Linked DNA regions of Homo sapiens: regions 2, 3, 4, 5, 6 and 7 are each linked to region 1. The links are contacts of gene promoters, found by promoter capture Hi-C in blood cells and fetal thymus (Javierre and others, 2016). All regions are on one chromosome and are shown on one strand. The core of a region is centred on a gene start or on the middle of the fragment in contact, and the rest is flanking DNA. Distances in the headings are between cores, read along the strand shown.

Region 1 (3,507 bases), core at 278-2,777:
GAGCCGAAGCCCACCGCACTGCGGCCCCTGGAATTCAGCGGGCGGCCCGCGCCAGGGCACCGAGCAGGAAGCACTGCACCCGCGCCGCAGTCCCCGGGCCAAGCCGGAGGGGCTGCGGGGAGCAGTCACCACTGCTTTGAAACTGAATGGCTGACACATCCGGTCCTGGCTCTTACACCACTCCGCCAAATGCAAACTTCAAAGGCCAAATTCAAACTCCAAACAGAAGTCACTCAAGTGACTTAGCAGTGCAGTTCGCATTCCCAGGAACACTCAAAGCCCCTTGGGGGCTGCAATTAGACAAACCGCACTTCCTAAAAGACTGCAAGCCTCCGCGAGTGTGCAGCCTCCCGCCGCACGGCTTTGACAGGCGTTACCGAGCCGTCCTCCTGGAGCCCTGCGGCCGGCGCTGGGGGCGCGCCGCCTGCGTCCGGGCCCAGCCCGCGGTATCTGCCTAGGGACTCGAGTCCCGGGCGGGCCGAGGGGCTCTGCCTGTCACGGCCGCTGGGACCTGCTACTTTCTCTTCGGTCCTCTCAGTCTCCCACCCGACCTCGGGCTTCTCACCCACCCCGCCCCTCTTCCGACCACCGCCCGCCTCAGGCTCGGGCCTCGCCCCCCAGTGCCTTTGCCCCGGGGACACCCGTCCGGGGGCGCCGCCGCAGGGCCGTGCCCCGCCCCCGGGCTCCTCGGAGAGCCCCGATTCCAGGAGTCCCACAAAGCCAGCCGTGGCCCCCTACACCTTTTCGCAACGGTTCCCCGCAGAGAGGCTCGCACGCCTGTCACATGTCTGCAAACAATAACAAACTCTTCCGCACGTCCCCGTCCGGTCCCCCAGGCTGGGTCCGGGGCGCCGCCCGACTCCGAAGGGGTCGGGGGGTGCTCAGGGGCGTAGGTCCCGGCGAGCGGCGCGTAGCCTCGCTGCGCTGAACCCCGGGACGCCGTGCATGGTGCCCGGGGTTCATTCATTGCCCTCTGCCCGCTCTCCAAGTCCCCGCCGCGACCCCGGCCGTGCTGCTCACCCGGCGGGGGCCGCTGCAGGAGACGGCTCGGCGGCGGGCGCCCGCTTCTCCCCGGGCTCGGCCGCTGCGGGACTCGAGGCGCCGCTGTCCGGCGCCGCCACCGACTCGGTAAGGTGGGCGCCGCCGCGGCTCGCGGCTCCGTGGGGCGGCGGCACCGCCACAGGCTGGAAGCCGGTCCCACTCCCCGCTGCGTCCGCGGGCTCCGGCGACGGGGAAGTCGAGGAGGCCGGCGGTGAGGCGGCAAGGAAGAGCGGCTGCTCAGGCAGCTGGTCCAGCTCCACACTCCGCACTTTGCGCAGCTGCCGCCGCCGCCAGTCCGCCCGCTCGCGGCCCCCGCTGCCCGCCTCCCGCAGCAGTCCCGCGGCAGCCGCGGGCGCGCTGCTCGCCTTGAGGGCTCCTCCGCCGCCGCCTGCCTCAGGGCTCGTAGCCCTGGCGCCCGGGAATCCCGACGACGAGGCGCGATTCCCCGCCGCCGCCGCCATTTTCTCTCGCGGGCTACATTCGCTCGGCCCCTGCGAGGGAGGGAGGGGGCGGGGAGAGCGCAGGGGGCGGGCACTGCGCCGCCAGCGTAAGGCCTCCTGCGCCAACTGCGTGAGCGCGGCCCGCCGGGCGCCTGGCCTGGACTGACCGACGGGCGGGCGCACTGGGTCCGGCCTGCGGCAGAGGTGTGGGTGGAGGGCGGCCCGGCGGCCGCAGGTGGGAGGGAGTGGGCTGTGCTCTCCGCCGGGCGAGAGGGCGGGCGGGCGAGGTGGACTGGGAGGCGGAGGGGGCGGGGGCGGAGGCGGAGGCGTGGGCTCCCGGGACTCTGCGCGCTGCACGCGCCGCGCCGCCAGGTAGTCCCGGCCGCACCGGCGACAGGAGGAGCCTTGGCGGCAGCGCTGCGCCGCTTCCTCTCGGCAATCTCGGCCCGGCACCGCGGAGCTCGCGGGAGGGGAGTTGCACCTTCCGAAAGAAAGAATTAGTTCCAACTTGGGTTTCTGGTGCTTGAAGGGGACGCAGGCGAGAGGGTTTACAGTCTGTCATTCCCACTGCCCTTTGCAGTGGGCGTCGGGGGACCCGGGCGTGGACCAGCCTCCCACCGACGCGCAGGTGGCGCCCGGGACCGTCGCCTGCTGCAAAGCGAAAGCAAGTCAACGTTCAGCAGACAGGCTGCCGCGGACCAGAAAAATAAAGTTTTGTTTGTGTTTTCTTTTGAAAAGAAAACATTCCTTCTCTATTGTCCCACCCCTGTCCCTGTGCTACAGATAACAAAACTTCAAAGTTTTCTGTAATACCTTACATCCTGAAGCTGCTGATTTGGGACAACTACCCCCTACCCTCACCAAGTCCCCACAGCCTCTGAGAAACCGTTGGGGCGAGGAAGGGAGGCGGGTGTCCCCGTCGATCTTTAGTTTTTCCTTGGCTGTCTTTGGGAAAGGCAGTCCCGTACAGAACCACATATAGCGCGTTTGGGGAGGGGACCAGCGCTGTGCCAGGAAGTGCTCGGTAATGTCACCCTCGGCCAGGTCCCGGCCCTCCCCGAATCCGATGCTTCTCGCCGCACGTCCTTCTTCCCTGCAGGGTCGGGCCACCGGCCGGGTTCCCTCTGTCCCCACTCCTGCAGGGCCTGGCTGCCCATCGCTGCGTTGTGAGTCCTCCTAGTCCCTGGACTCTACGTGAGAAGGTGCTTTGGGATGGAAAAAGCAACATTTACACGTTAATGATTTTTGACCTTTTGTCAACTGAGGAGAACTTCTGTGTTGCGTTTATTTCTTCCTTCCTTTCCTTTCCTCCAGCTGGTTTGTTTAGGATGGGGAATCTCCCAAAACCCAGGAGGAACGTCTATAGATTTACTTTGTGAAACATGATTAAGGAGGGGGGAGGTTGGGGTGGGGGGGTGCGGATTCTCACGGAGATAGTCTTGTCAGTCTTCACATATTTAGACAAAAGCCTGAACTATTTACAGAATAATTCCATTGACTTCTGGAGACTAGGTAAAATGAAAGCCCCTTTCCCAGATACAATGTTAACTGCGTAACCAGGTTAGATCAGAGGGGTTTTAAAAAGTCCAGATTTCATATTAGCTCAATGATTTGAAAACTGCTGTAACATCTCCCATAAGATAGTTTTAGATCGTTACACCCAACGGTACAAATTTTGAAAGTTCAGATAAATCTGTTAAAAATTAAGTCTACATTTAGGCTATAATTATATGCTATTTTAATGGCAGTCAAATGTATCATTCAAACCAAACAGTGGTTATTTCTCAGGTCTTCCTGGGTTGCCACACCCACCAAATCCTAAACTGAAACGGATAAACTTTCCTTGTTCCTATTTTGATCTAAAGACTTTTACATTTGCACGCACATATTCAGGTACCTGTAAGTGAGAAAAGTAAGTGGAAGACTTTAGCCAGAGTAGCAGAGTAAAAAGGAGATTCCAGCAAAACTGATTTTTGACTGTTTGTACAGTGGTTGAAACTGGGGATCAAAGGGAGAGGGCTACCCA
Region 2 (3,507 bases), core at 580-3,079, 900 kb after region 1:
GTCACAAACCTACGGCAACTCAGAAATCATCATACTGGGCTGAGGTTACTTTGAAGTGTCAGGTCTCAGGCTGGCAATTAATTTTAGTTTTAGGAAAGTAAAGTGATGTTTTGCACACCTGAGTGGGTGGCTTGCGAAGTTCATGCCTGCAATCCTAGTACTGATTCCTCAAACTCTCCTAGAAAAAATACCATCAGCCTTCCTGGCTGGCAAGTGCTGGGTTCACTGCACCTTGGGCCACTCACTCATTGCCTCGCCTGCCCTGATCTCACCAGCCTCCTAGTGGCCTCCCACAAAGGTCAAGGGAGTCACAGCTGACTCTGTCACTATAGTTACAGGAGGAGCCCAGTACTATCTCAGTGCTGAAGCCAGCAATCCACACTTTCGTGAAAGGCTCCACTAACTGTCACAAGCTCTGTGCTCAGCTAGAGAAAAGGAGCAGAAGTCCTCCTGTTGGGGCTGCAAATTTGCTAGGCATTGCATGTTCCCAGGCCCTGCCCTGCTGCTTCCGGGAAGAGGCCTTTTAAGTAAGCATTCCTGGGCTCTGAACCAGTGTGAGGGGCCAGCGTCCCTATATGACAACCACTGCAATGTCAGGTGCCTTTCTGCTCCCAGGCTGGGTGCTGAATAGAAGGGCAGCAGCAGCTGGGAAGTGGCCCCCTGGAGACTGGACAGAGCTGCGCCCGGCAGCATACATTCCCCAGGGCCCTCCCCATTCCTTGATTTTTTAGTAGTCAATGCAGTCTAAATTGGGGGTGAGGATTCTCAGGTGCGGTGTTGCTACAGGCACTTGAGATCTAAGAGGATGTGAGGAGCCTCAGACAACCCCTTAGGAAGGTCCACTCCACCTCCAGCCCCAACTATGGGGAGAGAGGAAGGCTTCAGGGCTACCTTGTAGGGGAAGACCAGAGCCCAGGCTCCCACCAGACCACCCAAGAGCCAACAAAACAACTGTCCTCTGGCAGCAGGGAAAGGCCTTCTGGAACTCTGAGGCTCAGCCCCAGCAAAGGCTGGGACCATGACCCAATTCCTGGGAGGCCAGATATGTCCACCCTGGGGGTCCTTTGGGCTCAGAACCTGGGCCCTTCCTTCAAAGTCAATCTGTCAGGAGGCCTCGGTGAGAGCTTGGTATCTGAACAAACGAAAAGAGACTGCTGTTCCTTTACAAAACTCGGGCTTATCACCATCCCTTCTTCCCAGTACAAGGTCGCATCTTTGCCGACCAAGTTCAACTGGCAGCTCAAGGGGCAGGGGAAACTTTAACCTAGGCAGGATGTGGCAGGGCCAAGCAAGCGCTGCGTGCCGAGTCTTGACATCTTCTCTGGCAAGGGCCATCCACACTGAGGCCCCGAGGGTCTCATGCTATGGTCGCATTTAGACTTCTCCCTTGGTGTGCTCTGGAAGTTTTTCAGACACAAGAAATTCCCTGGCTGTCACTGAATTTTTCAAATATGGATTTGGGGCTCCTTCCTCACACAGATGATCTGGTACTAAACTTTGACCAGAAAAGAGAAGCTGCTCTTTGGCTTCTGGGCGGGTCCCCTCTGGCATCCTCGAACGTAGGTATTGGGATTTTCTGGGCGGAATCTCAGGTGAAACTGGGAGCTCCTCAAAACTTTTCCCCAGGGGACAATCAGGCCTGAAGGGGCAGGTCACATACCCATTCTTTTCCCCTCCTAAATTGTTTTCCTGACCCGTTCTGGCTTCATCTGTGAAAATTTCTTGCAGAACATTCCCAAAGTTCACCACCAACTTGTCAATCACCAACTTGTCACTGGGGGTGGAACATGGTTTTAAGATCCTGTCTTCTGTGTTCACAGAGTCATCAGACTCCTTCAGGTTTAGCTTATCCTGGAAAAGAAAAAGGGACATCCCAAGTGGTCATTTAGGAGTCACATATGACATAGCCAAAAACTCGTTAGGCTTGGGACAGCAAATGCCCATCTCTGGAACAGCCCCCACCTTCCTCCCAGGCCCAGAAGTGGTAGCCAACCCTCTCTGCATGCCCTTCCACAGAGCTTGGAAGGAGTGGCACATTTCCTGAGAAACAGTGCCCTGGATTCAAACAATTTTTAAAATTTATTTATTTATATGTATATAATTTTTTTTTTTTTGAGACAGGGTCTCACTCCCGTTGCCCAGGCTGGAGTACAGTAGCATGATCACCACTCACTGCAGCCTCAACTTCTCAGCCTCAGGTAATTCTTCCCCCTCAGCTTCCTGAGTAGCAGGGGCTACAGATGCACACCACCATACCTGGCTACTTTTTAATTTTTTGTAGAGATGGGGTTTTGTCATGTTACCCAGGCTGGTCTTAAACTCCTGAGCTCAAGCAATCCCCCCTGCCTTGGCCTCCCAAAATGCTGGGATTATAGGCATGAGCCGCTGTACCCAGCCAATTCAAACAATTTCTTCTGCTAGAGTGTGCAAGGCTATTTTCCACACAATCCCATGTTCACAAAACCCCAGTTAAGATGGAAGAACTAAAATTAGAACTCTTAGGGATGGAAAAACCACATCATAGAGACAGACTTGTTCAACCTCACCAGAAAATCAGAAGTGGCCTCATGGCAGGGACAGTGACTTTGTCATTTGTATCCCTAGGGCCTAGCCCAGCACCTGGCATGTAGTGAGTGATTAATAAGTGCCGGCTCTAGAGGTCCAACCTACGGATTATTCAAAAAGCATGTTAGTTATCAGAGAGCACTGCCTATGAATCCATTTACTCTCTAAATGACATTTAATAAGCAGGAAAGTAAATGGGGGTATAAATCAGTCCAGTATACCGGACTGATAAGAGGAGGAAACAGAAAGAAAGCCCATTATAACAAAAGGCCCATGCTCAAAAAAGACTTCTGAGTGGGAACGAGGACTAATATTTAAAATTTGTGCATCAAGGAAAAACTGGAAACAGCCTTTCAGTAACAAGGATTTAAAGGTTATATTTGATTGGGCTTGTTTCTACGTAAGCAAGAAATTAAACCTTAAAATTTCCCTAACGGTTTTCCACTTAAAAATTTATGCAAATGGAGGGTTTCTAGTTAAGGAATACTCACTAGAAAACCCCAATGCCAGTTAAATAAAGCCTGACTCTGACGTCCCCAGCCTGAGAAAAACAACCTGAGGCAGCCTCAGACTGCCATGCCCATCAACATTCCCTGGTGATATTTAGACAGTCTTTAGATTAATGTGCTCTTGGCTGCTTTGTAAATGGCTTCAAATCCTATAGCCAAGGCTCCTCTCTCTCTAATTAGCCCATCAGGTCAGGAAGGGTAGGGCCAGTGTCTTTATTCTGCAGCATCCTTTATGGGACCAGTTCCACCTGGGAACGCACTGGGTCCTCATGAGCCTGGTGAAGCCCTTTCCCCTTGTCAAAGCATGAAGTCAAAGTCATTCCAGGAAGGCTGAGTCCATCTGCCCTGCCTGCCATTCCCTGAGACTTTTCAACTCCAGTTCTCTTGATGTGAACCTTGAAAAAAGCTCAGCCTAGGACTCTTTCCCCATCTC
Region 3 (3,507 bases), core at 504-3,003, 880 kb after region 1:
ATGTATGTGTATTGAATATACTCTAAAAATAAATGTGCAATTTGCTAGTAGGACAATGCAGTGACTGACTAGCATTAGGTATGTTTCTTTTATATCCTAGCTATGTCCCACTTTCTTCTAAGTGCAATCCTTTCATGTTCACTTGCTGTTTTACCCCATCTACTCTAACTTCATTTGGAAGGCTTGTCTAGAGTATAGCATGTATTTTTACCTTTGCAGTGAATTGCATGTGCTAATTGTAACCACAGCTATTTTTATGTTGACATAACTCCAAATGTTATATTAAATGTTCTATTATATATTAGCTCTAATCCCTTAAGTAAATTTTAAGAAATAAATACTTGTTCAAATTTTTTTTCTGTATGTGGTTACTATCATCTGACTATGCATATTTGTAACAGCATTTATCATTAGTGGTGTTAGCTAAATAAGCATCTTAGTGTAAATGAGATGCTTCGTGTGGGTTTTGTGACATTTTAAATGACATAATGGAATGTGATTTAAAAGAAAACCAGTACACTATCTTGGTCTTAATAACATAGAATGGAGATGGCAAATTTATCCACTAGTTTTCCAGATTTACTATTTAATAGCTGAGGTCTGAAATCGTAGCATCCTCCCTCCTAGTGGACATTAAAAAAAAAAAAAAAAAAAAAAACCTACTTGGTTGTCAAGAGCCCAAGTATGGAGGTGCTGCGCCATCTTGTGGCCTGTCTGTGCCCACCCTGCACTCTGCTGGAGTCTCCATCCTTGTTGCAGTGAGACTTGAAGTTCAAGATTGATACATGGCATCCTCCTGCTACTTCTTGAGGTTACTAAGTAGTATATGAAACTAATCAGTCAGCAAGTCCACCTGGAAGGAAAAGAAAATCTCAACTATTAATGTGCCTTCACATTGTGATTTTGTCTAAAAAAATGTAGTGAGTCAAAAAACCCACAAGCCAGCCAACAGTAACTCCTTCACATATATACCAGAGTTTATAGAAATAACATGTCAGCTTTGGGCTATGTGCTCCTTTGTTTAAAATCTTCTATTTGGTTATGGCTTGTATAGGCTCAAGCCTGATTTCTTTAAGGTGTGGTGGCTCATCTTATCCTAATGTGTATGATAGATACAGTCCATCCTGCTTTGGAAAAGATTATGTAACTCCTTGAGAGCATACTCTTTCTCTAGCCCAAAGGCAGTGAGAGAGTTTTCTTGTTCAGGATTGCTTAACTTTCCATTTAAGCTTTTTCTTTTTAAATTAATACAAACTTCTACACTTTCAAAATACGAAATATATTACAACTGCGTATAGGCTCTTCCATACTTAAGTCCAGTGCTTGGGCAAGTTAATGGAGTGAAAGACTACAAGCAAAGAGGAACTGAGGTAGAAAAAGAAGAATGTGTGAAAGCAGCAGGAAGCTCAGCCAACTCGAAAGCAGGGTGAACAGCTTGAGTCCTGTTGCTGCTGATCGGGGTTGGCTCTTGGACAACTTAGTAAGATCATGGAAAGGCTGCTTGGGTTCTCCATAGAAAAGTTCTGTCTCCATCAAGGGAGGAAAATGTACCTTTCAACTCAAAATTCAATATTTGTTTTTAAATATAGCTATTTTCCCCAACCGCTAAAGATTTTCAACAGATACGAAGCCAGAGCTTAGTTTTAGAAACCTGTGGACATTCAAACCTGATTCTTTATTCCCTGTGACTATGGTTATGTCATTTTACATGTCAAAAAAGTGTATCTAGAATTGTCATTTCTTATTTTTGAGCTTTTTTTAGTGAGAATTATCCCCTCACTTAAATGGCTTTTTATTTAAACATCTGTGCATTCTGTATGAAATTGTAGTCTTTCTGGGATAACATGGTGAGCTATATGGTGGTAATCCACACACACAAAAATAAAAGCCAAAAAAAAACCAAAACCCTCAGGTAAAGTATTTCTCTTTCTTCAACTGTCTCATTAGCCCTGGCTGTGGATGGTCTTTCTGAGACAGGCTAGCCAGAGTAATTCAACGGCCACAAGTGGTTTCTCCCCCAGAGTGCTGGTTCAAACTCTGAATGAGACCAGCCTGTTGATTAGAAATCTAATACCTCAGTCCAGGCCTACTTTCCTAGAACAATCTTCACTTAGTAACAGGTCCAAGACACAACTATTAAGTATACATCTGGGTCCCTTCCCCGTAGGAAAAGGTTTTCCCTGCAGTCTTGCCTGTAGTCAGAAGCAGCCTGTTGACTAATGATAGCTTTTAAATGAATTTATAGAAAATTCTTGGAAATAGGCTCTATAAGCTTTATGAGAGGGATAATGCTTTTAAAGGAATGGCATGAAGGGGAATATTTAAATAAAAAGGCACTGAGATTCTGACAATAGAAACCATAATTCTGCATAAGCGTTCTGAGAATGAAAAGTCAGCCACTCTTCAGGTCAAAGTCAGTGTGGATTTTGCCAGTTGTTCAATCTAGACATACGAACACCAGGGCTACCCAGCCAGCATCAGTGCCTAGGAAAGGACCTCCAAGAAACTTTTAACTGCCACGGTCAGAATCGAGACTAGACATTGCTGCTGGGGGTGAGGGGCCGCTCCTCTTCAAATGAACCGGCAGACCTTTCTGATCACCTGCTGGGGGCCACATGCCGGAGCAGGGTGTCCAAAGGTGAGCAAATATATGCCATCTATGAAGTGTTTACTGTGGGTTATGAAATCCTAGAAACTTATGAGGTAAATACCAGCACCATTTACAAATGCAGCCTCCAAGAGGTTGAATAACTTGCCCGGGGTCATGTGGTTGACAAACAGTGGAGTTCCAACTCCAACCTGATCCAAAGTCCGCATTCTTTGATGTGTACACCAATTGTACCCAACCACTTAAGCAAAATTCTTGATGACGTCATGCCCAGGCTAGCTTAAGGAGAATGCACACCTGCTTCCCAGGCCCTTCAAACTCTTCTGAGTTTCTCTTCCCCTCATCTCCCTCCCCACCACCCTTATTTGTGAATATGGGGCACCTTGTGCCCTCAAGCAGCCCCCTGCAATTGCCTACCTTGAAGTGTCCTAACTGAGCCTCGAGCCCAGAGCAGTACTTCTCCTTATGCCCTCAAGGTTTACTCCGAGGCTGGCTCCCCACCCCTACTAGCACATACATTTGCTCTGACCCTATAGAGCAACCCCTGCAAAAGAGGTCAATGTGTCCCACTTTCCTGAGAATGCACCCTCACACGACCCCTGGAGTCTCATTCTTTTGGCCAAAGAAAGACTCCTCTAATGGTGGAATCTAGCCCATGGCAACTAGTGACAGGAGGATCTCCGGCAGGGGCTTTTCCTGGGTGCTCAGACCACGGTCCTACCCCAGGTGGTTCTGTCCACAGACTTCCCCGGGCCCGCTGCCTAGCGCGAGCACCCGTTCCAGCCTGCCTCACCTTCACGGTGCCGCCAGCCACTCCTCTCCATCTCCTGCCACTCCCAGAGGGGCTGCCTGCTGCTGCCCCGCTGTGCTGACCTCATTCCCCACATTTGCTTTCTGTC
Region 4 (3,507 bases), core at 387-2,886, 860 kb after region 1:
TTTGTAGAGAGGGAATCTCACTGTGTTGCAAAGGCTGATCTCCAACACCTGGCCTCAAGCGATTCTTTTACCTCAAACTCCCAAAGTGCTGGTATTACAGGCGTGAACCACTGCTCAGAGCCAATAGAAACTTTTTAAAGCAGCAGCCGATGCGGTGGCTCACGCCTGTAATTCCAGCACTTTGGGAGGCTGAGGCGGGCAAATCACCTGAGGTCGGGAGTTCGAGACCAGCCTGACCAATGTGGATAAACTCCGTCTCTACTAAAACAAAATCAGCTAGGCGTGGTGGCACATGCCTGTAATCCCAGCCATTTGGGAGGCTGAGGCTGGAGAATCTCTTGAACCCGGGAGGCGGAGGTTGCAGTGAGCCAAGATCATGCCATTGCACTCCAGCCTGAACAACAAGAACGAAACTCCATCTCAAAAAAAATAGAAGCTAGCATAAGTTGTGGAGACATTAAGTTTGGGTAGGTAGTCGTATGTTGCTCAGTAACCCTGAAAGCATCACATTAGAGTAGAATATAAAAATTGTTCATTTTTTGGTAATATTGAATCATTAAGAAAAGGTAAAATCTGTTTAAGAAGGTAAAGGAGCATGTAACTTCATGAGTAATAGTTAAGGAATATACATTCTTATTGAAGGTATAAATTTCAATAAAACATTTTCTAATATGTACAGATAATATACTGTATAAATAAGAAAAATTTTAGTGGTGCATGCTAAAAAAGATAAAAATAAAGGAAGTTTGTTTTGGTTTTTGTTTTTTTGAGACAGAGTCTCACTCTGTCGCCCAGGCTGGAGTGCAGTGGTGCGATCTCGGCTCACTGCAAGCTCCGCCTCCTGGGTTCAAGTGATTCTCCTGCCACAGCCTCCCAAGCATCTGGGACTACAGGTGCCCACCACCATGCCCAGCTAATTTTTGTATTTTCAGTAAAGGGGGGTTTCACCATGTTGGCCATGCTGGTCTCAAACTCCTAACCTCAAGTGATCCTCCCACCTTAACCTCCCAAAGTGCTGGGATTACAGACGTGAGCCACAGCGCCTGGCCGAGGAAATTTTTTAAGATACCCTTTTTTCCAACTCGCAAACTAGGACCGTTAGTGCTTTCCCCTAGGTCTTACTGCTTTAGTCGTCTTGCTCCTTAGGCTGTTCTCTCTTGTAGGTAAGACATACAAAAATTGTCAGACTCTATAAAATCCAGAGTAATTTGAGATCATTGTTTTATAAATTCTAAATGTAAATACCATCATTGTTCTTAACAATGTATTTTTTATCCACTGCATTGGCAATACTTTTACAGACAGTTTTACCTGATTAAGCTTGAATCCAGTACACAAAAGACAATGCTTACTTAGAAAACTGCAGTTTTAAAAGAAAATTAAGTGGTCATGAAATTATAATGTAAAAATAAATTACGGTATTAACTTGACTTTTTCATTATGGAAAAACATGCTTAATCTGCTATTCTTGCTTTAGGGAACTTAGCAGAGAGCAAATGCTATTTGATAACAGTTACTCCAGTATATGCTGATGGACCAGGAAGCCCTGAATCCATAAAGGCATACCTTAAACAAGCTCGTAAGTCCAAACTCACTTCTTTGAAAAAAAAAGTTTAGGGCTTTGTATTAACAGAAACATTTTATCGCTTTTAAATAAAGATGTATCTCATTATGTTCAAATGATTTTATGACAAGGAAATTTTACTAGATTGTAAATGATTTTCAGTTAGCAAATGTGTTCACTCTGTTACAGCACCTTCCAAAGGACCTACTGTTCGGACAAAAAAAGTAGGGAAAAACGAAGCTGTCTTAGAGTGGGACCAACTTCCTGTTGATGTTCAGAATGGATTTATCAGAAATTATACTATATTTTATAGAACCATCATTGGAAATGAAACTGGTAATAAAACTGTATCAGTTATTAAGAATCAGTTATTTTTTCCTTAAGCTTTTAAGTACTAATTTAAGTCTGTTCTTCTTATACATCTTATAGTATATTGGCCTCAGGAGACACCTGAGAATTTGCCTTATGGTTACTTTCATGGATTTATTGAAAAAGTATTGTGTTGTGCTTTAGAACATAAAATTATGTCAGAACATTATAAAAGTTGTTTTCCAACAAAAATACTTCGCTTCTTTTTTAACACTTTCACAATGCCAAATATAGGCCAAATAAGCAAAAGCATTGAATAGTTGAATGAAGCACAGTTCTTATTTCTTCCAGCTGTGAATGTGGATTCTTCCCACACAGAATATACATTGTCCTCTTTGACTAGTGACACATTGTACATGGTACGAATGGCAGCATACACAGATGAAGGTGGGAAGGATGGTCCAGAATTCACTTTTACTACCCCAAAGTTTGGTAAGAAATAATGAAGTTTGGTTTTTTTTCTTTCTCAAACTTAGGTTAGAAATGAACTTAGTTTATGTGCTAAAATTGTGTTAAAAAGTACATCTTTGGATTCATGATGATTTTTATATTATCTGGCTTTGGTTGGTGGTTTCTTTATAGAAAGTGTTATTCCTCACCTTTTTGGTATTTTATTAACTGCTTCTGACTATATTCAGCTGTACTAAAAATCCTAAAAGAATTTGTGTATCTTTCCATGTGGGTTCATTTTTTTCACTGGTTTGGGTGTGTTCTTTCCTTCTCTATCCTCATTTCTTTCTTTTATTGAGAGATTACTTGAAGGACTAGTCCACTTTACAGTCTTCACTTCCGTACCTCCCACTCAGTATTTAACATACTGAAATTAGGGGTCCTACCCCACCCCTGCACTGAAACCTCTCTGGTGTCACTCAGAAGACCTCTTGATCATCATATGTACTGCATGCTTTTTAGTTTTCATCTTTTTTCTACTTTTTTTTTTTGGAGGCAGGGTCTTACTCTGTTGCCCAGGCTACAGTGGAGTGCAATGGCATGAACATGGCACACTGCAGCCTTGACCTCCTGGGCTCAAGTGATCCTCCTACCTCAGTTTCTCAAGTAGCTGGGACCAGTGCCACCACATCCAGCTAATTTTTTTTATAGAGATGGCTGGTCTCAAACTCCTGGGCTCAAGTGATCCTTCTGCCTTGGCCTCCTAAAGTGCTGGGATTATAGACATAAGCCACTGCCTCCAGCCTTTTCTGCATTTGACTCTGTTGGCCTTCCATCCTTGAAACTCCCTCCTCCCTTGGGTTTTCTAACCATACTTTTTCTGCTAGCACAGTCTCCTGAGTCTCCTTGTTCTTTGGTGTTTTCTTCTTCTTCTCCTTTTTTTGCTTTTTTTTTTTTTTTTTTTTTTTTTGAGACAGAGTCTCGCTCTGTCACCCAGGCTGGAGTGCAGTGGTGCGATCTCAGCTCACTGCAACCTCCACCTCCCAGGTTCAAGTGATTCTCCTACCTCAGCCTCCCACGTAGCTGGGGTAGAGGTGCCCACTACCATGCCTGGCTAATTTTTTGTATTTTTGTAGAGACGGGGTTTCACCATGTTGGCTGGGATGGTCTCGACCTCCTGACCT
Region 5 (3,507 bases), core at 433-2,932, 850 kb after region 1:
TCATCCCACTTCAGCCTCCCGAATAGCTGGGACTATAGGCGTGCACCACCATGCTCGGCTAATTTTTTTTGTTTTTAGTACAGATGGCATCTCCCTATGTTGCCCAAGCTGGTTTCAAACTCCTGAGCTCGAGCGATCCTCTTGCCTCGGCCTCCCAAAAGTGCTGAGATTATAGACGCAAACCATCATACCCAGGGCCATGCATTTATTCTTAAAACTAAACTATTTGGCCATCTTGTTCTATTCTTCCTGTTTTGTATTGGTCCCTTGCTGTTTCCTTTGTTGTCTGAGTTTTGATGTGTGGACAATGTATACTGTCTGTGACCCCAACTGTACTCCACAACAGCATTCAGGACTGTAGAGGAGACCACCACTGCCTGTTTTCTGGAGAGTTTAGTTTAGACCTGGGATCTAAATGGAGGGACAGGATACGTTGTGGGGCAAGTATGAATCATGCTGCAGGCAGTCTGTGTTTCTTAAAGAAATAGTTTATACCATGGGCTATAAAGCATGAATGGGTTTTTCTTAATTCAGCTCTATTATCTTTATAATTTGTATATTTCTTTACAAATTCAGGCATTAAATTCTAACCATATTAATTTTCAGTTGTGTATTGTCTTTTTCTGTGTCTTTAGGGATATTTTAGTGACGGTTGAGGGACTCTACATTGAGTGCTACCAGCTAGATATCATTTTGTACCAGAAAAATTCAGTCCATTTATATATTTTCTATTGTTCCTTTTTAGGTGAACTTCTAGATCCATGTGGTTATATCAGTCCTGAATCTCCAGTTGTACAACTTCATTCTAATTTCACTGCAGTTTGTGTGCTAAAGGAAAAATGTATGGATTATTTTCATGTAAATGCTAATTACATTGTCTGGAAAACAAACCATTTTACTATTCCTAAGGAGCAATATACTATCATAAACAGAACAGCATCCAGTGTCACCTTTACAGATATAGCTTCATTAAATATTCAGCTCACTTGCAACATTCTTACATTCGGACAGCTTGAACAGAATGTTTATGGAATCACAATAATTTCAGGCTGTAAGTTTTGTTTTTGTCTTATTTCAGACTTTGTCATGACTATTGAACTGCATTTTTAATGTTGTCCTTTCATCTTTATAAAATGTAGTAACTTGTGGACTTAGTGACTTGGACATGTTTGGTTTTTAAAAAATAAGCTTAGAAGTAGGAACCACAAGTCTCCTGTCTTTCCTGAAAGTCAAGCAGTTTCACTTTACTAGAGAAATATTTGACATGAGACCCCCCCCACCACAGGAAAGTATTGTTGAATTGACATAATGATGGTAATTCTCAGTATCCCTTAATTGCTGAGAAAATGCACGTGTAAAGCAGCTACCTGAAGAAAGCGAACAAATACTGGAGTAAATCCTTTTTTTTTTTTTGGTGACAGAGTCTCGCTCTGTCACCCAGGCTGGAGTGCAGTGGCATCATCTCAGCTCACTGCCCTCCCGGGTTCAAGCAATCCTCCTGCCTCAGCCTCCCAAGTAGCTGGGACTACAGGCATGAGCCACCACGCCCGGCTAATTTTTCATATTTTTAGTAGAAATGGGGTTTCGCCATGTTGGCCAGGCTGGTCTCAAACTCCTGACCTCAGGTGATCCACTTGCCTCGGGCTCCCAAACTGCTGGGATTACAGGCGTGAGCCACTGTGCCTGGCCTTGGAGTAACAAAGTAAACAAAATAAACTTACTATGATCCAAAAGTGGGTTATCTAATTTGTGGATCACCCAGACTTTACTGTTTTGGCATTTGCTTTTCTTCCAACGAGTTTGGGAAAGCAATAAGAAGAGAAATATAAATGAATCATTTTGGCTTCTACTTAGTTGCCTCTTACAAACATATGTATATATTACTTTTAAAAATATACTTAATGGAGAAATCAGTTGATATTTTTTTCCAGTTATAAATGAAAGTTGATTTTACATAGAAAATTAATGTGAAACAAACCAGTTGATGACAGTTAGGATGGATGTATATATATTACTTCCTGAAAAGAAGTGTAAGAGTTGGGATAGAAAAGAAATTGTCATCAGCCTTTCATTGTGTCCATACTTTTTGCTTGGGTTTGATTTTTTTCATCTAATTTAGATCGCAAATGCCTTGGGTAGTATATAAATTGCATAATATTTGTGGATATAAAGCTTTCTGAAAGATGCTAATTAATCCCTTTTAGTGCCTCCAGAAAAACCTAAAAATTTGAGTTGCATTGTGAACGAGGGGAAGAAAATGAGGTGTGAGTGGGATGGTGGAAGGGAAACACACTTGGAGACAAACTTCACTTTAAAATCTGAATGGTACGTTATTTTAAATTTGTTTCATGTTAGATTTATTAAAGTTAGTCATTTTTGCTGGAATTTTTATTTTACCAAGTAATAATATTAAATGCTATTTTAAAACATTTAATTTTTTATTCTGTAACATTTCAAATATATGTAAAAGTAGAGGCCAGGCGCGGTGGCTCATGCCTGTAATCCCCCAGGCGCGGCGGCCCATGCCTGTAACTCCAGCACTTACGGAGGCTGAGGTGGGCAGATAACTTGAGGTCAGGAGTTCGAGACCAGCCTGGCCAACCAGAGCAAAACCCTGTCTCTACCAAAACTACAAAAATTAGCCAGGCATGGTGGCGGGTGCCTGTAATCCCAGTGACTCGGAGGTTGAGGCAGGAGAATCACTTAAATCCAGGAGGCGGAGGTTGCAGTGAGCCCGGATTGCACCACTACACTCCAGCCTGGGTAACAGAGTGAGACTCCATCTCAAAAAAAATAAATAAATAAAAAATAAAAGTAGAAAGAATAGTAGAATACCCATACATACCCATCACTCAGCTTCAACACTGGTCAGCTCATGACCAGTCTTATTTCAAAGGTACTCTTTGCCTATATTGTCTTGAAGAGAGAATCGCGGGCATCATATTTCATCCAAAGATATTTCAGTATGCGTCTCTAAAAGATGAGGACATTTTAAAAAAAAGCATAACAACATACCACTGTTACACTCAGATATAAAATATTACATTTTCAGTTAGTGTTGATTTCCCCTATGTCTCATGAATATGCCTATATGTATAATTTTTTTTACATTTGTTTCAGTCAAGATTCGAATAAGCTCCATACTTTGTGAATTTATGTCTTGTCTCTTAAATTATAGGTTCTATTTGTTCTTTTTTCTTACATTTCAGTTGTTAAACTGTTATACATTGTACATTGTTTAACATATTCCCTTGTCTTTTTTTTTTTTTTTTTTTTTTTTTTTTTTTTTTTGAGATGGAGTCTTGCTCTGTCACCTAGGCTGGAGTACAGTGGCATGATCTCTGCTCACTGCAACCTCCGCTTCCCAGGTTCAAGCAATTCTCCTGCCTCAGCCTCCTGAGTAGCTGGGATTACAGGCATGTGCCACCATGCCCAGCTAATTTTTTTCTATTTTTAATAGAGAGGGTTTCACCATGTTGGTCAGGCTGGTCTTGAACTCCTGACCTC
Region 6 (3,507 bases), core at 605-3,104, 830 kb after region 1:
AACCTTTTCATTTGGCTAAAATAGTCTAATTTTAAAAGGCCCTAAGGTCATAAGCATATTCTATGTGTTTTTCAATATGCTTATAATTTTGCTTTTGCATTTAGGTCCTTAATCTGGAGAGAGAGTGTATGCTTATACATGCATGTGCACGTGCATGAGTGTGTGTCTTTTTGTCTGATGAAATGGGGTTCTTTTTTTTCTTTTTTGCTTATGGAGCCAGTTGTCCCAATACTATTTATTGAATAGTCCTTTATTTTCCCAGCAAATGAGCAACCTTTTAAAAAATCAGATACTAAATTCTTATATACACTTGAGTGTGTTTTGTTTTGTACCATTGATTTAGTTGTCTATTCATTTGCCAATCAGTGCTATGTTTACTTTACCTTTAGACTGCCCTTTTTTTTTTTTTCTGCGAGACTTTTTTTTTTTTTGAGACAGAGCCTCGCACTGTTACCCAGGCTGGAGTACAATGGCAAGATCTTGGCTTCTTAGCTTGCTGCAGCCTCTATAAGCCCAGGCTCAAGTGGTTGTCCCACCTCAGCTTCCTGAGTAGCTGGGATTACAGGCATGGTCCACCATGCCCGGCTGATTTTTTTTTTTATTTTTTTTTTATTTTTTATAGAGATGGGGTTTTGCCATGTTGCTTAGGCTGGTCTTGAACTCCTGGGCTCAAGCAATCTACCTACCTCGGCCTCCCAAAGTGCTGGGATTACAGCCGTGAGCCACTGCACCCAGCCTTCTGTTACATTTTCTAATTAGTTATTACTGGTATGTAGGAGAGCTTTTTTTTTTTTTTTTGGAGATGGAGTTTTGCTCTTGTTGCCTGGGCTGGAGTGCAGTGGCGACATCCCGGCTCACTGCAACCTCCGCCTACTGGGTTCAAGTGATTCTCCTGCCTCAGCCTCCCAAGTAGCTGAGATTACAGGTGTGCGCCACCACTCCCGGCTAATTTTGTATTGTTATTAGAGACAGGGTTTCTCTATGTTGGTCAGGCTGGTCTCGAACTCCCAACCTCAGGTGATCTGCCTATCTCGGCCTCCCAAAGTGCTGGGATTATAGGCGTGAGCCACCGCGCCAGCTGGAGAGCTATTTTTTGATGATGTTTTGTTTGACTGTTATGTTAAACTCTAAATAGTCCTATTATTTTTTGATGATGTTTTGTTTGACTACTGTGTTAAATTCTCAATAGTCCTAATAGTTTGTCATGTGATTCTCACTCTTTCTTGATAGATGATCATATCATTCACAATTTATTTTCCATTTTTAGATCTTATTTATTATATTTTTGCTTAAGCCCTTTAGAGCAGTGGTGAATAACTGATGACTTCAAGCATCTTGTCTGAATCTTGACATTAATAGGAACGCTTCTAATTTTTACCTTTAAACCTATAGATGCTTATTATAGGTTTCTTTCTTCCTTTTTTTTTTTTTTTTGGAGGCAGAGCCTCACTCTGTCGCCCAGGCTGGAGTGCAGTGGTGCATTCTCGGCTCACTGCAACCTCTGCCTCCCGGGTTCGAGCAATTCTTCTGCCTCAGCCTCCCAAGTAGCTGGGACTATAGGTGCCCACCACCACGACCAGCTAATTTTCATATTTTTAGTAGAGACAGCGTTTCACCATATTGGCCAGGCTGGTCTCAAACTCCTGACCTTGTGATCCACCTGCCTCGGCCTCCCAAAGTGCTGGGATTACAGGCGTAAGCCACCATGCCTGGCCTTGTAGGTTTCTTATAGTAGTACCTGTGGCAGCAACAGCAAGAGCTGCACTAATAATAACAGCTGTTAACCTTTTATTGAGTAGTTACAATGAGCCAAATGATTCTAAGCACTTTATGTATAATGAGTTATTTAATCATCATAACATTCCTAGATGGGTAGGTGGTGGTGGTACCCCATGTTTACAGATAAAGGAAGTAAAAGTGAAGGCTATTTAAAAACTTGCCTAAGATGTTAAAATATAGGGACTGAAATTTGAACACAAGCAATCTGGTTCTAGAGTCCCTGTATCATCTTTGTTATCCTTCACCAAGGTAAGGATGGTCTCTTTCAGTCTTAGTTTTCTGACACTTTGTTGTTATTTTTAAGTTTTAGATGAACAGTTGTTGAATGTTATCAGATGCTTTTCAAACATCTGTTGGAATGACCCTGTCATTTTCCTTTGGTCTGTTAATATAGTAATTAGCAGTATCTTTTCTCATTTTGAACTGTGCTTATTTTAGGCTAAATACTTGTTAGCATTCACACTTTGGTTTTGTTTTCAAATCTATTTAGACTTTTCTCTAACCATACTACAAAAAAATGTTAAAGGCAGTTTTTCAGGCCCAAGGAAAATGATACCAGATGGAAATACGGATCTATACAAAGGAATTAAAAGCTCTAGAAATGGTAACCACACGAGTAAATATGTGCCAGTCTCACTCTGTCACCCAGGCTGGAATGCAGTAGTGCAACCACAACTCACTGCAGCCTCGACCTCCAAGGCTCAAGCAGTCCTCTCACCTCAGCCTCCTGAGTAGCTGGGACAACAGGCATGCACCACCACAGCTGTCTAACTTTTTATTTTTTGTAGAGGCGAGAGTCTTACTATATTGCCCAACCTGATCTTAAACTTCTGGGCTTAAGTGATCCTCCTGCCTTGGCCTCCCAGAGTGATGGGATTTCAGGTGGGAGCTACCAATGTGAAGTTTTAATATATGCAAAAGTAAAATATATGCTAAAATAGCACAAAGGTCTGGGGGGAGAAATGGAAGTATACTATTATATACTATGCCTGAGGTGACATAATATTACTTGAAGATAGATTGTGAAAAGTTAAAGATGTACACTATAAACCTAAAGCAACCAATAAGAAAACAAAGAATTATAGCTTATTAGCTAACAAGGAAAAGAGAATAAAAAATAATTAAGAAAAATAAATGCAGAAAAGTAAACAGGAACAAAGAACAGTCAAGAAGAAAACAAATATGAAGCTGATAGCTTTAAACCTAATCATATCACAAATTATATTAAATGTAAATGGTCTGAACACCCAATTGGAAAGCAGAGATTATCAGATTGGATACAACCACATGCTGCCTACCCCCTAAAGATGCCACTTAAATATGAAGAAACATACAGATTAAACAAAAAAGAATGGGAGAGGATATGTCATGATAACACTAATCAAAGTAAGACAGAATTGGCTATAGTAATATCAAAGTAGATTTCAGAGAATGTTACCAGTGGTAAAGAAGGGCATTTCCTAATGATAAAAGGGTCAATTTATCAAAAGGATCTACCAAATAACATAGTTTCAAAACACAACAGGGTAAAAACTGCAAGGAGAAGTAAATCCACAGTTATATTCAGGGATTTCAATATCCCTTTTTGAACAATGATAGAAGTAGTAGTCAGAAAATCAGTAAGGATATGGAAGATTTGAACACTATCAACCAAATTCACGTAATGACCATTTATGTAACACTCTACCAGCAGCAGCAGTGCTTTTTAAGTGCACACAGAATATTGAT
Region 7 (3,507 bases), core at 468-2,967, 810 kb after region 1:
TAGTAAAGATAGGGTTTCACCATGCTGGCCAGGCTGACCTCAAGTAATCCACCCGCTTCGGCCTCCCAAAGTGCTGGGATTACAGGCATGAGCCACCGTGCCTGGCCAAAACAGTGGTTTATCATCTTGATCCTGCCATTAACTAATTGTTTGAACCAGAAACTAATTGAAACCAAGTCCCAATGTCTTCAGTGAAACAAACTGCAGTGTGTGTGTGTGTGTGTGTGTGTGTGTGTGTGTGTGTGTGTGTGTAAAATAAAGGTCTGGGCCAGGCGCAGTGGCTCACGCCTGTAATCCCAGCACTTTGGGAGGCCAAGGCAGGCGGATTACCTGAGGTTGGGAGTTCAAGACCAGCCTGACCAACATGGAGAAACCCTGTCCCGACTAAAAATACAAAATTAGCCAGTCGTGGTGGCAGGCACCTGTAATCCCAGCTACTCAGGAGGCTGAGGCAGGAGAATTGCTTGAACCCGGGAGGCAGAGATTGCGGTGAGCCAAGATTGCACCATTGCACTCCAGCCTGAGCAACAAGAGTGAAACTCCGTCTCAGGGGAAAAAAAAAAGGTCTGACATTTAGGCTTTCATTATTATTTTGAGACTCCAAACCACAGATCCCCACTAAGTTATCCTAGTTTACTAGTCAGTCCATAAGTCTTCCATGATTAAACTTACTAGTAATGATAATCATAACAACAATAATAATATACCTTAAAAATTATAAAATATTTTTCCATGTCTAGCACTTTTACATATATTATCTTATTTAGATTTCATAACAACTTATTGAAAGAGATTGTATTTCCATTTTACAGATAAGGAAATGGAGGTTCAGGTGAGACAAGTAATCTGTCTATAGTTATAGAACTAATAAATGGTAGAGCCACCTGGTTTTCTATCTCCATGTCCAGAGATTCCTATCAAACCTATCATCATAAACAACAAAGAATTACCAATTGTCTAATACATTAAGGATAGTGTGCCTGGCTCTATTTGCCTAACTGGTTGCTTCCACCAAGGCCCAGCAGAACAAAAATCAGAGCCAGCAGCCACATACCCCCTTGATCCGAGCCTGGCCCCCTTGCACATATGTGATCCTGTGAAATTCACTAACACATAAAGCATCATGCCATCTGAAGGCACAAAATAGCTATTAATAATCCCCTGCATTGGTAAAGTCCCCTCCCTTCTGGAATGTTAGTTTTACAAAGATTATCATATAATTTCCTCCAGGGCAGTTTTAATGATGTGCCCTGTTTCCTTATGTGAGAAAGACTCAAGAAGAATTATTGAAACTCATTAGTTGCTTCCAAAAAGAGAAATATTTTGGTTGGCATAATGTCAACTGTTGATCCACAGGTTCAACCTGACTATTCTACTTAGAAAAAGCACAAATGAGTTTGGGTTTATTCAAGATCTGAAACCTTCTGGCCAAAGCTTAAAGGTACTTGTGTTCTTACCAGTGAAAATTCCAACCAACATGAAAAACACCTCACACAGAGGTCATCTTGTATTTCCTCAGAGATCCATGCCAGAATATGCTGAGGGCTTTCAGGGTCATGCCATGGTAGCTCCTTCCACCCATGATCTCCATATTTCTAATTAATTTTTTCCCACTTTTTGGTCTTTTTACCCAAACTAGAAAGTTTCTCCAAGAGGGAGCATGTGTTGGTGTCCAAAGTGTTTCTGCTGGAGAATGGCAGTGACAGGGCAAAGTGGGCACAATGCTATGATGAAGTTTGAGTTGACTTTACCCTCATCTTCTTCCCTCACAAACCAAACCCTGGAAACCATGCAGAAAAGCCTCTCCTGAGGCTTGGCTACAGGAGAGGCAAAAGTAGAGGGAGCAGCAAGGCAGTTGCCTCCTTCCAAGATTACACCCAGGCTAATCTGAGGCTACCATACCCTCTGCTATGTCTACTCCCAATATATCTGTGAAATTTATTGGAAAATTTCAATGCACTATTAAAAACGTCATGAGTGTAGTCAGTAAAATAAGCTTTTAACAACATAGGAAATTGTTTAGGCCATGGTGGTAATTGACAAAACAAATAAAAAATTATATGCATCTAAAAGATATTAGAAATACACCAAAATAGCTGTGTGTAGTGGCTCATGCTTGTAGTTCCAGCAATTTAGGAGGCCAAGGCAAGAGGATTGCTTGAGGCCAGGAGTTTGACACCAGCTTGGGCAACATAGGGAGACCTCATCTCTACAAAAATTTTTTTTAATTAGCTGGGCGTAATGGCACACACCTGTAGTCCCAGCTACTTAGGAGGCTGAGGCCGGAGGATCACTTGAGCTTAAGAGTTTGAGGCTGCAGTGAGCTATGATAGAGCCACTGCATGACAGAGAGACTGTGTTTCTTTATATATATAATATTTATATACAATAAATATATAATATATACATTTATAATATATAAGGAATATATAATTATATAAATCATAATTTAATTATATAATTTAATTATATAATTATATAATTATATTATATAGTATATATTATATATAATATATACTATATAATATAATTATTATATATATTATATATCCTATATTATATTATATAGTATATATTATATATATTATATTATATATTATATGTAATATATTATATAATATATAATATTATATATCATGTATCATATATTATATATATTATATCATATATAATATATAAAATATATATATTATATATGATATATGATATATCATATATATTATATATGATATATGATATATCATATATCATATATAAAATATAATATATAATATATAATATATATAATATATAATATATGATATCATATATTATATATTATATATCGTATATTATATATTTGATATATCATATATCATATATTATATATCATAGTATATTATATCATATATTATATATTATATAGTATATCATATATTATATATTATATATAGTATATATGATATATAATATATAGTATATAATATATAATGTATATATTGTATAATATATAATATATAATGTATATATTGTATAATATATAATATATATTATATATGATATATATTAAATATATAAATAATATATAATATAATATATATCATATATCATATATCATATAATATATATAATATATAATATAATATATAATAATTGTATAATTTAATTATATAATTATAATATATAAGGAAGATGTACAATTTACATATATATAAATTAACACTTCTAGGTCATAAGAGTGTGACTACAGTGAACAACTGCTATTTCCTGCCCTGTTTGTTGCAAAGATTAATTGGGATATAAAGTGTCTGGTATAGTGAGTTTCTGTCACATAGCTGGCACACAAAAAGGGGTAGCACTTAGGATAATACTTGTTATCCAGGCATTGAAAATTTGTCTCTGATTAGAGAAAACAGCTTAACATATTCCTACTTGGAAAAAAAATTCACTTTTTATTGAAATCAGAATCACAGTCTAAGTGGTTTACACTGATTTTCTGCATTTGGGTTGGACCATTTAGTCCATCTG

Evidence for each region. The method cuts DNA at HindIII sites, captures the fragments that hold promoters and counts their contacts. A CHiCAGO score of 5 or more calls a contact.
Region 2: a fragment that was not itself captured here is called in contact with the fragment with the promoter of MAP3K1 in region 1 in 1 of 17 cell types (naive CD8 T cells); the score reaches 6.9 in naive CD8 T cells.
Region 3: a contact is called between a fragment that was not itself captured here and the fragment with the promoter of MAP3K1 in region 1, in 7 of 17 cell types (naive CD4 T cells, fetal thymus, monocytes and 4 more). The highest score is 10.9, in naive CD4 T cells.
Region 4: a fragment that was not itself captured here is called in contact with the fragment with the promoter of MAP3K1 in region 1 in 8 of 17 cell types (total CD8 T cells, naive CD4 T cells, total CD4 T cells and 5 more); the score reaches 9.6 in total CD8 T cells.
Region 5: a contact is called between a fragment that was not itself captured here and the fragment with the promoter of MAP3K1 in region 1, in 6 of 17 cell types (naive CD4 T cells, total CD4 T cells, total CD8 T cells and 3 more). The highest score is 8.5, in naive CD4 T cells.
Region 6: a fragment that was not itself captured here is called in contact with the fragment with the promoter of MAP3K1 in region 1 in 3 of 17 cell types (total CD8 T cells, fetal thymus and naive CD8 T cells); the score reaches 8.3 in total CD8 T cells.
Region 7: a fragment that was not itself captured here is called in contact with the fragment with the promoter of MAP3K1 in region 1 in 2 of 17 cell types (total CD8 T cells and naive CD4 T cells); the score reaches 7.8 in total CD8 T cells.

Annotation. Positions count from the first base shown.
Region 1 is chr5:56,813,569-56,817,075 of GRCh38, reverse strand. It overlaps MAP3K1 (mitogen-activated protein kinase kinase kinase 1), which reads right to left and starts at 1,527. Exons shown (of 20, transcript NM_005921.2): 1 at 1,021-1,527. The coding sequence starts at 1,502. RefSeq lists silencers at 430-669, 850-969, 1,040-1,809 and enhancers at 1-718, 2,170-2,299. The HindIII fragment of the contact is 8,983 bases long and covers 1-3,507 here.
Region 2 is chr5:55,914,988-55,918,494 of GRCh38, reverse strand. IL31RA (interleukin 31 receptor A) reads right to left here. Exons shown (of 15, transcript NM_139017.7): 15 at 1-1,851. The coding sequence ends at 1,375. Among named protein-coding and RNA genes, the nearest start is that of IL31RA, 65 kb to the right of the region's middle. The HindIII fragment of the contact is 5,310 bases long and covers 1-3,507 here.
Region 3 is chr5:55,933,493-55,936,999 of GRCh38, reverse strand. It overlaps IL6ST (interleukin 6 cytokine family signal transducer), which reads left to right. Exons shown (of 17, transcript NM_002184.4): 17 at 1-1,905. Among named protein-coding and RNA genes, the nearest start is that of IL6ST, 60 kb to the left of the region's middle. The HindIII fragment of the contact is 1,043 bases long and covers 1,232-2,274 here.
Region 4 is chr5:55,950,322-55,953,828 of GRCh38, reverse strand. IL6ST (interleukin 6 cytokine family signal transducer) reads left to right here. Exons shown (of 17, transcript NM_002184.4): 12 at 1,478-1,579; 13 at 1,754-1,900; 14 at 2,225-2,365. Among named protein-coding and RNA genes, the nearest start is that of IL6ST, 43 kb to the left of the region's middle. The HindIII fragment of the contact is 628 bases long and covers 1,323-1,950 here.
Region 5 is chr5:55,967,094-55,970,600 of GRCh38, reverse strand. It overlaps IL6ST (interleukin 6 cytokine family signal transducer), which reads left to right. Exons shown (of 17, transcript NM_002184.4): 4 at 746-1,051; 5 at 2,205-2,325. Among named protein-coding and RNA genes, the nearest start is that of IL6ST, 26 kb to the left of the region's middle. The HindIII fragment of the contact is 984 bases long and covers 1,191-2,174 here.
Region 6 is chr5:55,986,059-55,989,565 of GRCh38, reverse strand. All of the region lies in intron 1 of IL6ST (interleukin 6 cytokine family signal transducer), which reads left to right. Among named protein-coding and RNA genes, the nearest start is that of IL6ST, 7.2 kb to the left of the region's middle. The HindIII fragment of the contact is 3,824 bases long and covers 1-3,507 here.
Region 7 is chr5:56,006,835-56,010,341 of GRCh38, reverse strand. No RefSeq gene overlaps it. Among named protein-coding and RNA genes, the nearest start is that of IL6ST-DT, 13 kb to the right of the region's middle. The HindIII fragment of the contact is 562 bases long and covers 1,437-1,998 here.